2 separate regions of the Homo sapiens genome follow, and region 2 is linked to region 1. The links are contacts of gene promoters, found by promoter capture Hi-C in blood cells and fetal thymus (Javierre and others, 2016). All regions are on one chromosome and are shown on one strand. Each heading gives the region's core, a stretch centred on a gene start or on the middle of the fragment in contact. The rest is flanking DNA. Distances are from core to core; before and after follow the strand shown. Region 1 holds the start of GIMAP1 (GTPase, IMAP family member 1). Region 2 has its middle 16 kb from the start of GIMAP6.

Region 1 (5,975 bases), core at 2,236-4,735:
GATGAGCCTCCGCGTGGACTCCTGCCGGGACTGAGCGTTCTCTTCTAAACCTGTGAGACCAAGTGTTATAATCTTACTTAAGTTTAACCAACTTCCCCTTGGGAACTGGAATCTTCTTGCCTTTAGCATAAGTGGTTAAGAATAGAGATTTGAACGCCTGGGCGTTCATTTCCACCTTTTCCTTTTGTATTTGGGTTGTCTGCCTGCACCAGTAGATGCTCCAACTACAGTTGATTATCATAGAAATGCTTCTTTATCAGTCCAGCCCAATAGTTCATCTGACATTTCTGGTCATCCACACACATGCAGACATATTTATTTCATATTTGAAAATTTCGATGGACTCTGAAATATTCTCCCAGAGACCATCCCCAGAGACAGGCAGTGGGGGCAATACTGCCTGGTAGTGAAGAGCTGTGTGGAGTCCCAGATACCCTGGTTTGAATCACAGCCCCACCACGTGCTGGTTGTGTAACCTTGGGGAAGCTGCATAATCTAAGTATTAAGCCTCTTCGGCAAAAGTGGGAGCGATAATAGGGGCCTGTTTCTCAGAGGCCTGTTGAGGGGGTGAAATAAGCCCTCTTTCCTTCTTCTCTCTTTCTCTCCCTCTTTCTCTCCTTCCTCTCTTATCTCTCTCTTAAACTGGCTGCCTAAAAAGAATATATGTTTTAACCCTCTATCCTTGTTCTCTAAACATTCTACCTCACAAATCATGTTCACTGTAGTGCATGATTTAATCCCCTCTGCACTTCTTCTGCGGTGATCGGAGTAGGTTTATTATCCTTATTTTATACTGTGGAACCAAGGGAGCAGGCTAGTCACAGAACTTAACTTCTCACAGCAGAGATCCAGCTAAAATGCAGATCTCAGGGCTGGTGCTGTTTCATCCCAGAGTTGAGACACCTCTGGAACTTATCTCTGTTCAGTCTTGAGGAAGCCCCATTCTCCTTATTACCCTAAGTTCAAGCCTAGGGGGGCAAGTATGAGGTGTAGAGATATGGTCTTACCATAGACATTTTCTTCATCTGTCGCCATCTTCCTTCCTCCCATGCTTACCTGGAAGAGTCCCAAACACAATTTGTTAATTCATTTATTTATTCCTCAAATAGGCATAACCACAAATAGGCATAACCACCTACAGGGTGTCAGGCAAAGTCCAAAGAGCTGGTGACAGCACAGTGAAAAGACATGGTTTTTGCTTGCAAGGATCTAAAAATCTAGGTGTATGTCTTGGCAGAAGGGCACGTGGCTAGAGAGAAGACAGGTAAATTTCGTCAAATATAATACATTGTGCTAATCCTTCTTTAAGTAAGGATTATATCGGAACTTGAGAGAATGGCCTTGGAAGGGCCAACACCCTGCCCTTGAGTTGGTAGGATGCTGTGAGAACATTGGGTGAGGCTAGATTTGTCTTTTCAGGAACTCCAAAAGCAAAAAGCAGAGGGTCGGTTATAACATTTACTCAATGCCAATGGGCTTTAGGTATTACTTTTCCCTGGGTGATTCTATATCACTGACATAAGCTAGAGATATCAGGGGATTCAGCAGCTGGGGGAAGATTAGGTAAACCCTCAGAACCAGAAAATGTGCCCAGTGACTTAGGCACCCACCTTCAAGTGGCTGACCTGGGAAGAAAGAAGAAAATTGGGATTTTTCTTTTGGAAATTGAACAGATCTCCCAAGTAGATCTGGAGGGCCCCTAACTCTGTTTTCTTAAAATCAAATAATTTGGTTTGTTTAGAGATGTCTAAATACGATATCTGTGCTGGAGAGACTTGAACACTTCCCTTCAACTCCTGAAGTTGCTTCCCCTCCAAATGTGATTATGCTGAAATCTAACATTGTGTAATACAGCTAAACCCTCTGTGATCCAGTTTGCCTAATCACACAAGCTCCTGAACACAAATTCACTTCTCCCTGCATCTATGTCTCCAGCCTCATTCCCAGACAATACCCCACTCGGTCAGCTACTTCACAATCAGCAGATTTCAGGGCCTTTCCAACCCACTCGGCTTCCCCTCCTAGGACTATTGATCCTCCCCGACCATCTGTCTGTGCCTCACCATCCATGTCAAACTTGTTGTGTCTTGCACCCTGGTCACTTGGATACCTGTGTTCTCTCCCATTGGCACCACACATGAAGGAGGGGCAGAGAGAGAGGCTGGCTGAGTAACTTGTCTTTGATTGAAGGACTTGGAGAACAGATTTGCCTCATATTAAATCTAGAGCTGTTTCTGTTTCTGCAGGAACTCTACTGGCCCTCCCCAAAGCCTTCAATAAAATTCACTCCATGGGCCTTATGTGATTAATTATTTTGCATGTAGGAATGAACAGATGATCATAAATGACATCAAAGCAGAAATGAAGAAACAGTTGCAAGATTCAGAGAAAAGAATTTAGATGAAGCAAAATGTCCTTGTCAACCAAGAAAATGAGAATTTCTTTTTCCAGTGCTGCAGAATTCTGGATAGGCCTTTGGAATTTTCCATAGTTTAGAAGAGGGGTTGAAATGATTTTAAATAGTTTTTTTTTTTAAAGGAAAGTAAGACCCAGCTGAACTCTGAGGTGACAAATGGCCCTTAATCATTGAGGAATGTACACTTATAGAATCCTGTATTCCTAACACTTTAAGAGACCGCAAAGTTTATTGAGTTCTTCACCGCTCAAATGTGCTGCTTCTCAGAATTACTTGAATGTTCTTTAAAAATGTACATCTCTTGGATCCATCCTGAGATTCTGATTCATGAATTAAATGTTTCTGATGTCCACAGCTCAGAACTTGGACATCAGTCATTTTTGCAACCCCCTTTATTGTACAGATGGGAATTTGAGGTGTCCCCGTGGCTGGAGCAGGAGAAGCTTGAATTAAGGGAGCAGATGTTTAAGGGGCCATGCAGGGAAAGGGGTTGAAGACCAAGATATTAATCTCAGATGTCTCCTCAGGGGCCCCTTCTGTGGACAGTGAGGAGGAGAGTTCAAATGTACCCAGTCTTGTCACGTCGTAACTCACTCCGAGGTTAGATGGCTTATGGGGCCATAGAAATATCTTTTGCCTTTGCTCAATAGGGAGCTTGAGGAATGTTTAATGCCTTTCAAACTGTATTTTATTCCTGGAGGTGGTTCCAGCACACTCTTTTCTTACTTTGTTAAGGGAATGTGGGAGGAGACAGATTTCACTCCCCACCAAGAACGTGTGTGCTCCAGAGCTGGAGAAGATGATCCTAAAATTTCCTCTGAACTTTGCCTACTTAAAAACCTGGAAGTATGTCCTTGATTGTTCCAGATCTTGCTCGCCTGCATGATGCCTTGTAGAATGCAAGTGTTCAGGCAGTAAACACTCTAGGAATCATGTTCTTTCTGGTTCTCAGAGCACCCCCAGCCCCCGCCACTCCCAGGCTCAGGCTCACCTTTCCTGGTGACAGGCTCTGAAGTTGGCCACAAGAAGCCCCAACCTGCTGCTTTCCCTTCGGCTGTGAGTGCAGAAGGCTGTTTCCTCTCGGCACACGGAGGAAATCACTCAGACTTCAGAAATCAGGAAGCTCAGGGTGGGCCCCATGGTTATGGTTTAAAGAGACAGAAACATTTCCCATTGAGCTGTGGGTTGGCAATACTTCTCCTACCGACTCTACTTTCTGCTGTGACTGAGGTTATGTGTCTCCAGCAGGGCCTCATGATGTCAAATATCTTGCCATGCTCTAAGAAGGGAGGGATGTTGTAGTCTCTGAGGCCTGACTGTACTTCTAAAATTGATTACTGAGCTAATCTTCAGTTGCCTTTGCCCTATAGGGACATTTCCCCATATAAAATAGGCCCAGAGAGTCTCCTGCCCCGGAACAAATAACGTAATAGCTGTTCTCATCATCTGTCCATTAATTAGACATTCATGTGGCCAGTGCCAGCCCCAGATCCAGTCTGCCAGAAAAACCTGAAGGCAAAGTCTTATCATTCTCTGAGAGAGGAGGGCTTTCCCAGCTATTGAAGGACTTGAGGGTGAACTGGTATGTTGAGGATGAACACCTTCGCACTATCTTCAATTTAGCCTTATTAGGAGGCTTTAGTCTAGTCGTCTATGTTGGTATCACCAGTTCTAGTTATTCTATCTTCTCTCAAGAGCATCATGAGGTCAGCAAAAAAGCGAATCACTGGGTGGTAAGAAGGCTACAGAGGAGCAGGCTGCATATCTGGTTAGGTCATTAACCAGCTATAGGACCTCACCTAACTCATTTAAACTTTCTGGAGTTGGCTTTCTGGAGTATATGGGGAAGACAATAACCCGAGTCTTACCCTACTGGATAGGATCTGCTTTTTAACCTCTTTCATGCCAGACCACTTTTTTTCTGGTAGGGAAGAGACCCAGCTTTTACTGTTTCCCATCTTTTTGGGGGCACAGAGTCTCCTGGATATCTGACATGTCCACTGTTTCCATTCATCATTGCTGAAACAGGGAGCCTGTCATTCTCCCAGTAGACCGGCAGGGCTGGGGCTATTGTGAGGCAGGTGGGGCATCTAGAGCACACAGCTTAAGGAGGCACTCACTCTCAGGTCACCCAAGTGCAGATCTTGTAGGTGGGTGACCCTGGGAGTGAGTGTTTTCTTAAGAGTGAGGTGCCTAGGGCTTCTCACTAGCCTCATCCTAGCCCAAGCCACATAGATCAGCTTTGAATAAGTCTTTGATACTTGACGTGTACCTTTCATAAAGACGCTTTCAGAGCCTCTTCAACAGCTCCGGGCCATTTATTGTTTCCATGCATGTGTATGATGTCTTACTTCAGCCACTCATAACTCTCTGTCAGAGGGTTTATCTGACTACAAAAGTATATGTAGGTAATGCATGCAGCAGCCTGAAGTTGTCAGAGCTGATATCCTAGGAGCAGATTTCAATCAATGTCAGTTAGGACTTATGGATAAACACCACAACTTATCAAGTTGTCCACCACGTGAGACAACTCTGTGATGTACTGCATACAAATTGCTGAGTCCCCAGCAGGACTGAGACCCAGTTGTCTGCAGTGGGAACATCCTCATCACCGTATACAGTGGTAATGTGCTCATTAATGCAACTTGCATTGGCTACTATCCCTTCCCGTCCCACATTTCCACTTTCCTACTGGTGCTTTCTGGGATCTTCTTCCTATTGAAAAGTAACCGTTTCTGTCTTTATTTTCCTCTACATTTCTATTAGCTCTTGATTATGTCTCACTGTCTCTGGGCTTTGTTGCCTATTATTATTCATTGATACTTACTATCAGTTGTGGAAACCCAGGTGAAGCTCAGACCCTGACTACACTTGAGTCTCAGAATTATATCTAGAACTCCGGCTTCCTTTTGTACCCTGTATTAATGCTTCCTTCCTCTCTTTCCAGTCTTTGCATGTTCATTGTTTTCTTCCGTATCCTTATAAATGCAGTGAAGAAAATGTATTAGTCCGTCCTCACGCTGCTTTAAAGAAATACCCGAGATTGGGTAATTTATAAAGAAAAGAGATTTAATTGGCTCACGGTTCCACAGCCTGTACAGGGAGCATGATGCTGGCATCTCCTTGGCTTCTGGGGAGGCCTCAGGAAACTTACAATCATGGCAGAAGCCAGAGGGGAAGCACACACATCTCATGGCTGGAGTAGGAGCAAGAGAGAATGGGAAGGAGCTGCATACTTAAAAATTTTTATTTAATGTACTTTACATTCTGGGATACATGTGCAGAACATGCAGGTTTGTTACATAGGTATACATTTGCCATGGTGGTCTGCTGCACCCATCAACCTGTCATCTAGGTTTTAAGGTATTTGTCCCAATGCTCTCCCTCCACTTGCCTCCCCAACCCCCGACAGGCCCCCATGTGTGATGTTCCCCTCCCTGTGTCCATGTGTTCTCATTGTTCAACTCCCACTTATGAGTGAGAACATGCAGTGTTCGGTTTTCTGTTCCTGTGTTAGTTTCCTGAGAATGATGGTTTCCAGCTTCATCCATGTCCCTAC
Region 2 (5,975 bases), core at 1,383-3,882, 100 kb after region 1:
CCTATGGTTAATATTATTAGAAATAATATTAAAATTACTACATTTAATTGGGTATAGTCATGCACTGCATCGTGTCATTTTGATCAATTAAGGGCTGCATATACTACAGTGGCTTCATAAGGTTATCATGAGACTAAAAAATTCCTATCACCTAGTAGCTATTGAATGTCATAGTGCAACACATTATTCACATGTTTGTGGTGACATTGGTGTGAAAAGCTGCCAGTCATATAGAACATACAATTATTTACAGTACATAATACTTGATTGTAATAATAAATGACTATGTTACTGGTTTATGTATTTACTATATTTTAAATCATTGTTTTAGAGTATACTCCTTCTACTTATAAAAAAAGTTAATTGTAAATAGCCCCTCAGGCAGGTTCTTCAGGAGCTATTCCAGAATAAGTCATTGTTATCACAGACGATGGCAGTTCAATGTGTGCCATTGCCCCTGAAGAACTTCCAGCGGGAAAAGGTATGGAGGTGGAAGACAATGAAATTCATGATCCTGACCATGTGTAGGCCTAAGCTAATGTGTGTGTTTGTGCCTTAGTTTTTAACAAAAAGTTTGAAAAGTAGAAAAAGACAAAAGCTTATAGAATAAGAATATTTTAAAATTTTTTGTGCAGTTGTTCAATGTGTTTGTGTTTTAAATTGTGTTATTACAAGAGCTAAAAATTTAAATAAAAAGTTTAGAAAATAAAAAGGTTACAGTAACCTAAGTTTAATTTAATTGAAAATGGACCCCTTCCTTACACCTTATACAAAAATTAACTCAAGATGAATTAGACTTAAACATAAGACCTAAAACCATAAAAACACTAGAAGAAAACCTAGGCTATTAATACCATTCAGGACATAGGCATGGGCAAAGACTTCATGACTAAAACACCAAAAGCAATGGCAACAAAAGCCAAAATTGACAAATTGGATCTAATTAAACTAAAGAGCTTCTACTCAACAAAAGAAACTATCATCAGAGTGAACAGGCAACCTACAGAATGGGAGAAAATTTTTGCAATCTATCCATCTGACAAAGGGCTAATATGCAGAATCTACAAGAGACTTAAACAAATTTACAGGAAAAAAACAAACAACCCCATCAAAAAGTGGGTGAAGGATATGAACAGATACATTTCAAAACGAGACATTTATGCAGCCAACAAACATATGAAAAAAAGCTCATCATCACTGGTCATTAGAGAAATGCAAATCAAAATCACAATGAGATACCATCTTACACCAGTTAGAATGGTGATCATTAAAAAGTCAGGAAACAACAGATGCTGGTGAGGATGTGAAGAAATAAGAATGCTTTTACACTGTTGGTGGGAGTATAAATTAGTTCAACCGTTGTGGAAGACAGTGTGGTGATTCCTCAAGGATCTAGAACCAGAAATACCATTTGACCCAGCAATCCCATTACTGGGTATATATCCAAAGGATTATAAATCATTCTACTATAAAGACACATGCACATGTATGTTTATTGCAGCACTATTTACAATACCAAAGACTTGAAACCAACCCAAATGCCCATCAGTGATAGACAGGATAAAGAAAACATGGCCCATATACACTATGGAATACTATGCAGCCATAAAAATGGATGAGTTCATGTCCTTTGCAGGGACATGGATGAAGCTGGAAACCATCATTTTCAGCAAACTAATGCAAGAACAGAAAACCAAACACTGCATGTTCTCACTCATAAATGAGAGTTGAGCAATGAGAACACATGGACACAGGGAGGGGAACATCACACACTGGGGCCTGTAAGGGGGTGCAGGGCAAGGGGAGGGATAGCATTAGAAGAAATACCTAAAGCATGCGGGGCTTAAAATCTTAAATGTAAATGGGCTAAATGCCCCAATTAAAAGACACAGACTGGCAAACTGAATAACGAGTCAAGACCTATCAATGTGCTGTATTCAGGAGACCCATCTTAAGTGCAAAGACACACATAGACTCAAAATAAAGGGATGGAGGAATATTTCCCAAGCCAATGAAAAGCAAAAAAAAAAAAAAAAAAAAAAAGAAAAGCAGGGGTTGCGATTCTATTCTCTGATGAAACAGACTTTAAACCAACAAAGATAAATAAAGACAAAGAAGGGCATTACATAATGGTAGATGGATCAATGCAACAAAAAGAGCTAATTATCCTAAATATATATGCACCCAATACAGGTTGGACAGATCAATGAGACAGAAAATTAACAAGGATATCCAGGACTTGAACTCAGCTCTGGACAAGCAGGCCTAATAGACATCTAAAGGACTCTCCACCCCAAATCTATAGAATATACATTCTTCTCAGCACCACATAGCACTTATTCTAAAATCGACCACATAGTTGGAAGTAAAACACTCCTCAGCAAATGCAAGAGAACAGAAATCATAACAAACAATCTTTCAGACCACAGTGCAATCAAAATAGAACTCAGGATTAAGAAACTCACTCAAAACTGCACAACAACATGGAAACCGAACAACCTGCTCCTGAATGACTACTGGGTAAATAACAAAATTAAGGTAGAAGTAAAGAAGTTCTTTGAATCCAATAAGAACAAAGAGACAATGTACCAGAATCTCTGGGACACAGCTAAAGCAGTGTTGAGGGAAATTTATAGCACAATGAATATTATTAAAACATAGATGACGGGTTGATAGGTGCACCATGGCACATGTATACCTATGTAACAAACCTGCACGTTCTGCACATGTATCCCAGAACTTAAACTATAATAAAAAACAAAATAAAATAAATTGAAAAAAGAAAATATCTTTTATAAATTTAATATAGTCTACATGTACAGTGTTTATAAAGTCTACAGTAGGGTACACTAATGTCCTAGGCCCTCACATTCACTCACCTGTCACTCACTGACTCATCCAGAGGAACTTTCAGTCCTTCAAGCTCCATTTATGGTAAGTGCCCTATACAGGTATACAATTTTTTATCTTTTATACCATATTTTATACTGTGCATTTTCTGTGTTTATGTGTGTTTAGATATACAAATACTTACCACTGTGTTACAATTGTCTGCAGTATTCAGTACAGCAACATTCTGTACAGATTTGTGGCCTAGGAGCAATAGGCTATACCCAACAGTAGGCTATGTAGCCTCGGTGTGTAGTAGGCAGTACCATGTACATTTGTGTATGTATGCTTTATGATTTCACACAACAATGAAACCACTTAATAATGCATTTCTCAGAAGGTATCCCTGTTAAGGGATACATGACTGTATTTTCACTGTCAGAGGAAAACTGCCTACTCAAGCCTCAGTAATGGCGGACGCCCCTCCCCCCAGCAAGTTCCATCATCCCAGGTCAACTTCAGATTGCTGGGCTGGCAGTGAGAATTTCAAGCCAGTGGCTTTTAGCCTGCTGTTCTCCAAGGGATTGGGACCTGCTGAGCGAGACCACTTGGCTCCCTGGCTTCAGCCCTCTCTAAAGGGGAGTGAACCATTCTGTCTCACTGGGGTTCCAGGTGCCACTGGGGTGTGAAAAAACACTCCTGCAGCTAGCTCTGTGTCTGCCCAAATAGTCACCCAGTTTTGTGCTGGAAACCCAGGGCCCTGGTGGTGTAGGCACACGAGGGAATCTCCTGGTCTGTGGATTGCAAAAACCATGGGAAATGTGTAGTTCTATCTGGGCCAAATAGCACAGTCCCTCACAACTTCCCTTGGCTGTGGGAGGGAGGCCCCTGGCTGCTTGGACGTCCTAGGTGAGGTGACGCTCACCCTCCATGGTGTTGGGAAAAGCTGAGTGTTGGGAGAAGCTGAGGCAGGGCTTACATGTCTGACACAATGTAAAAGAGTCTTGGAACCTGTCCAGGGTCCGGGGTCTAAAACCTCTCTTGGCCTTTGGAACACCAAGCTCTGTGCTAAAGGGTGGAAGCCTACCCTGATGCACCATAATGTAAGCGCAGGACATAAAACCCCTCATGGCCTCTGGAATGTGTCTAGACTTGCTGGCTCCTTGCTCCTTGCTCTGCCAGGATCGATTGTATCTTGAGTTAAAAGAACCTTCTCTCCATTATCTCAAGTAGCAGAGCATATGCTAAACTGTCATAGCTGTAAATCATGTGCTTAATGCAATGTTCCCTTTCAACCCCACATTCTCACCACCTGTTTCTTTGTTTGATCACCAATAAATAGTCTGGGCTTCCAGAGCTCAGGGCCTTCACAGCCTCCATTACTCACATTGGCGCCCTGGGCCCACTTTCTCTCTCAAACTGTCTTTACTCATTCCTTTGACTCCACCAGATTTTGTCACCCCCACCACCTGGTGTTGGGTCCAATCACCCCAACATTCCTGGCTGCCCAACTTGGGGTGACAAATACCCCAGTGAAGGAATGCTAGAGCATGTGAAAGTGGAGGATGCATCGTCAAAGGACACCTGAGGACCACTGAAAGAAGCTCGTCAGGAAAGCTGAGCACTTGGAAGAAACAGGGTAACAATGGGACAAAGTGAAAGCAAACATTCTGCTTACTTGAATTTCTTAAGGCACTTATTATGAAGAGGGTGAGACATGGGGTAAGACCCAGTGGAATCTGAGGCTTGTTTATTCAGAAGGCCCCATTTAGAGAAAAAGAAGACAAAGTGAGGACTTAGAAGGAGCCTGGGAAAGTAAAGTCATCTTGAAGCTTCAGTTTCACAGTTAACCTGCTTCTGCTGGAGAAAAACAGATTTAATGAGCACAGAGGCATGATATGGGACTGAATGTAAAGAAATTTGGACTCAAGGCCCCAAGGAATATTTGTTTGAGTTGTGGAATATGCTTGATTTTGGTATGTTAGTGATTTTCACAGCATTGTTCATTGCAAGATTCAGGGCGTTCTGGCATGCTTCCAAAGCCCAAAGCATCATTGATGCAAATGATACTTTGAAGGACTTGACAGAAGTAACACTGGGAGATAATGTGAAATACTACAATTTGGCCAGGAGGGAGTGGGTCCCCTCTGATCCTTGGGTGGTGTCTGAAGGTCTTTGTGCAGTTGCTGTGGTTTTGAGTTTCTCTGGGATAGCTTGTATTTTGCCAGCAAATGAAAGCTTTGGACCTCTGCAGACGTCACTTGGAGGAGCAGTCAAAGACATCTTCAGGTTCATGGTCATATTCATTATGGTGTTTGTGGCCTTTATGATTGGAATGTTCAACCTCTACTCCTACTACATTGGTGCAAAACAAAATGAAGCCTTCACAACGTTGAAGAGAGTTTTAAGACAATGTTCTGGGCTATATTTGGACTTTCTGAAGTGAAATCAGTGATCATCAACTATAACCACAAATTCATTGAAAACATTGGTTATGTTCTTTATGGAGTCTGTAATGTTACAATGGTCATTGTTTTGCTAAATATGTTAATTGCCATGATCAACAATTCGTTCCAGGAAATTGAGGATGATGCTGATGTGGGTCATAAAAAAGGTTTCCAGGAAGATGTAGAGATAAGTAAGTAGAGATAGACATAAATAGAGATATACATAAATAGAGATAGAGATAAATAGAGACAGAGATAGACATAACTAGAGATAGAGATAGAGGTAAATAGAGATAGAGATAAGTAAGTAGAGATAGAGATAAGTAGAGATAGGTAGGAAAATACAGGGACTTGCAGGAACTCACAGGAAATAACAGGTACCATAGGGACAGACAGGGACAGATACGGATAGATGAAGACCAGCAATATAAGGTCAGTACCCTAAAGAGGTATTGGTCAGTGCCCTAAAGAGGTACTGGTCAGTGAGGTACAAAAGCAAAGACTAGCAATATAAGGTTAGTGCCTTAAAGAGGTACTGGTCAGTGCCCTAAAGAGGTACAAAGGTAGAGACTAGCAAAGACAAGCAGAGATTTGCAGGGACAGACAAGAACATTCTGAATTATGGAAATTAGCTATGGCTCAAAGTCCAATCAAAATCTGAGAGGGCAAATATAAAAGGAATAGAGGGGAAGGAGGTAA

What was found. Contacts are between HindIII fragments. The CHiCAGO score rates a contact against its expected background, and 5 or more counts as called.
Region 2: a fragment that was not itself captured here is called in contact with the fragment with the promoter of GIMAP1 in region 1 in 4 of 17 cell types (activated CD4 T cells, naive CD8 T cells, non-activated CD4 T cells and 1 more); the score reaches 6.7 in activated CD4 T cells.

What each region holds. Positions count from the first base shown.
Region 1 is chr7:150,714,123-150,720,097 of GRCh38, reverse strand. GIMAP1 (GTPase, IMAP family member 1) reads right to left here and starts at 3,485. Exons shown (of 3, transcript NM_130759.4): 1 at 3,408-3,485; 2 at 1,008-1,056; 3 at 1-50. The coding sequence starts at 1,050. GIMAP1-GIMAP5 (GIMAP1-GIMAP5 readthrough) reads right to left here and starts at 3,485. Exons shown (of 5, transcript NM_001303630.2): 1 at 3,408-3,485; 2 at 1,008-1,056. The coding sequence starts at 1,025. The HindIII fragment of the contact is 9,233 bases long and covers 2,862-5,975 here.
Region 2 is chr7:150,613,525-150,619,499 of GRCh38, reverse strand. It overlaps the pseudogene TRPC6P3. Among named protein-coding and RNA genes, the nearest start is that of GIMAP6, 16 kb to the left of the region's middle. The HindIII fragment of the contact is 4,063 bases long and covers 601-4,663 here.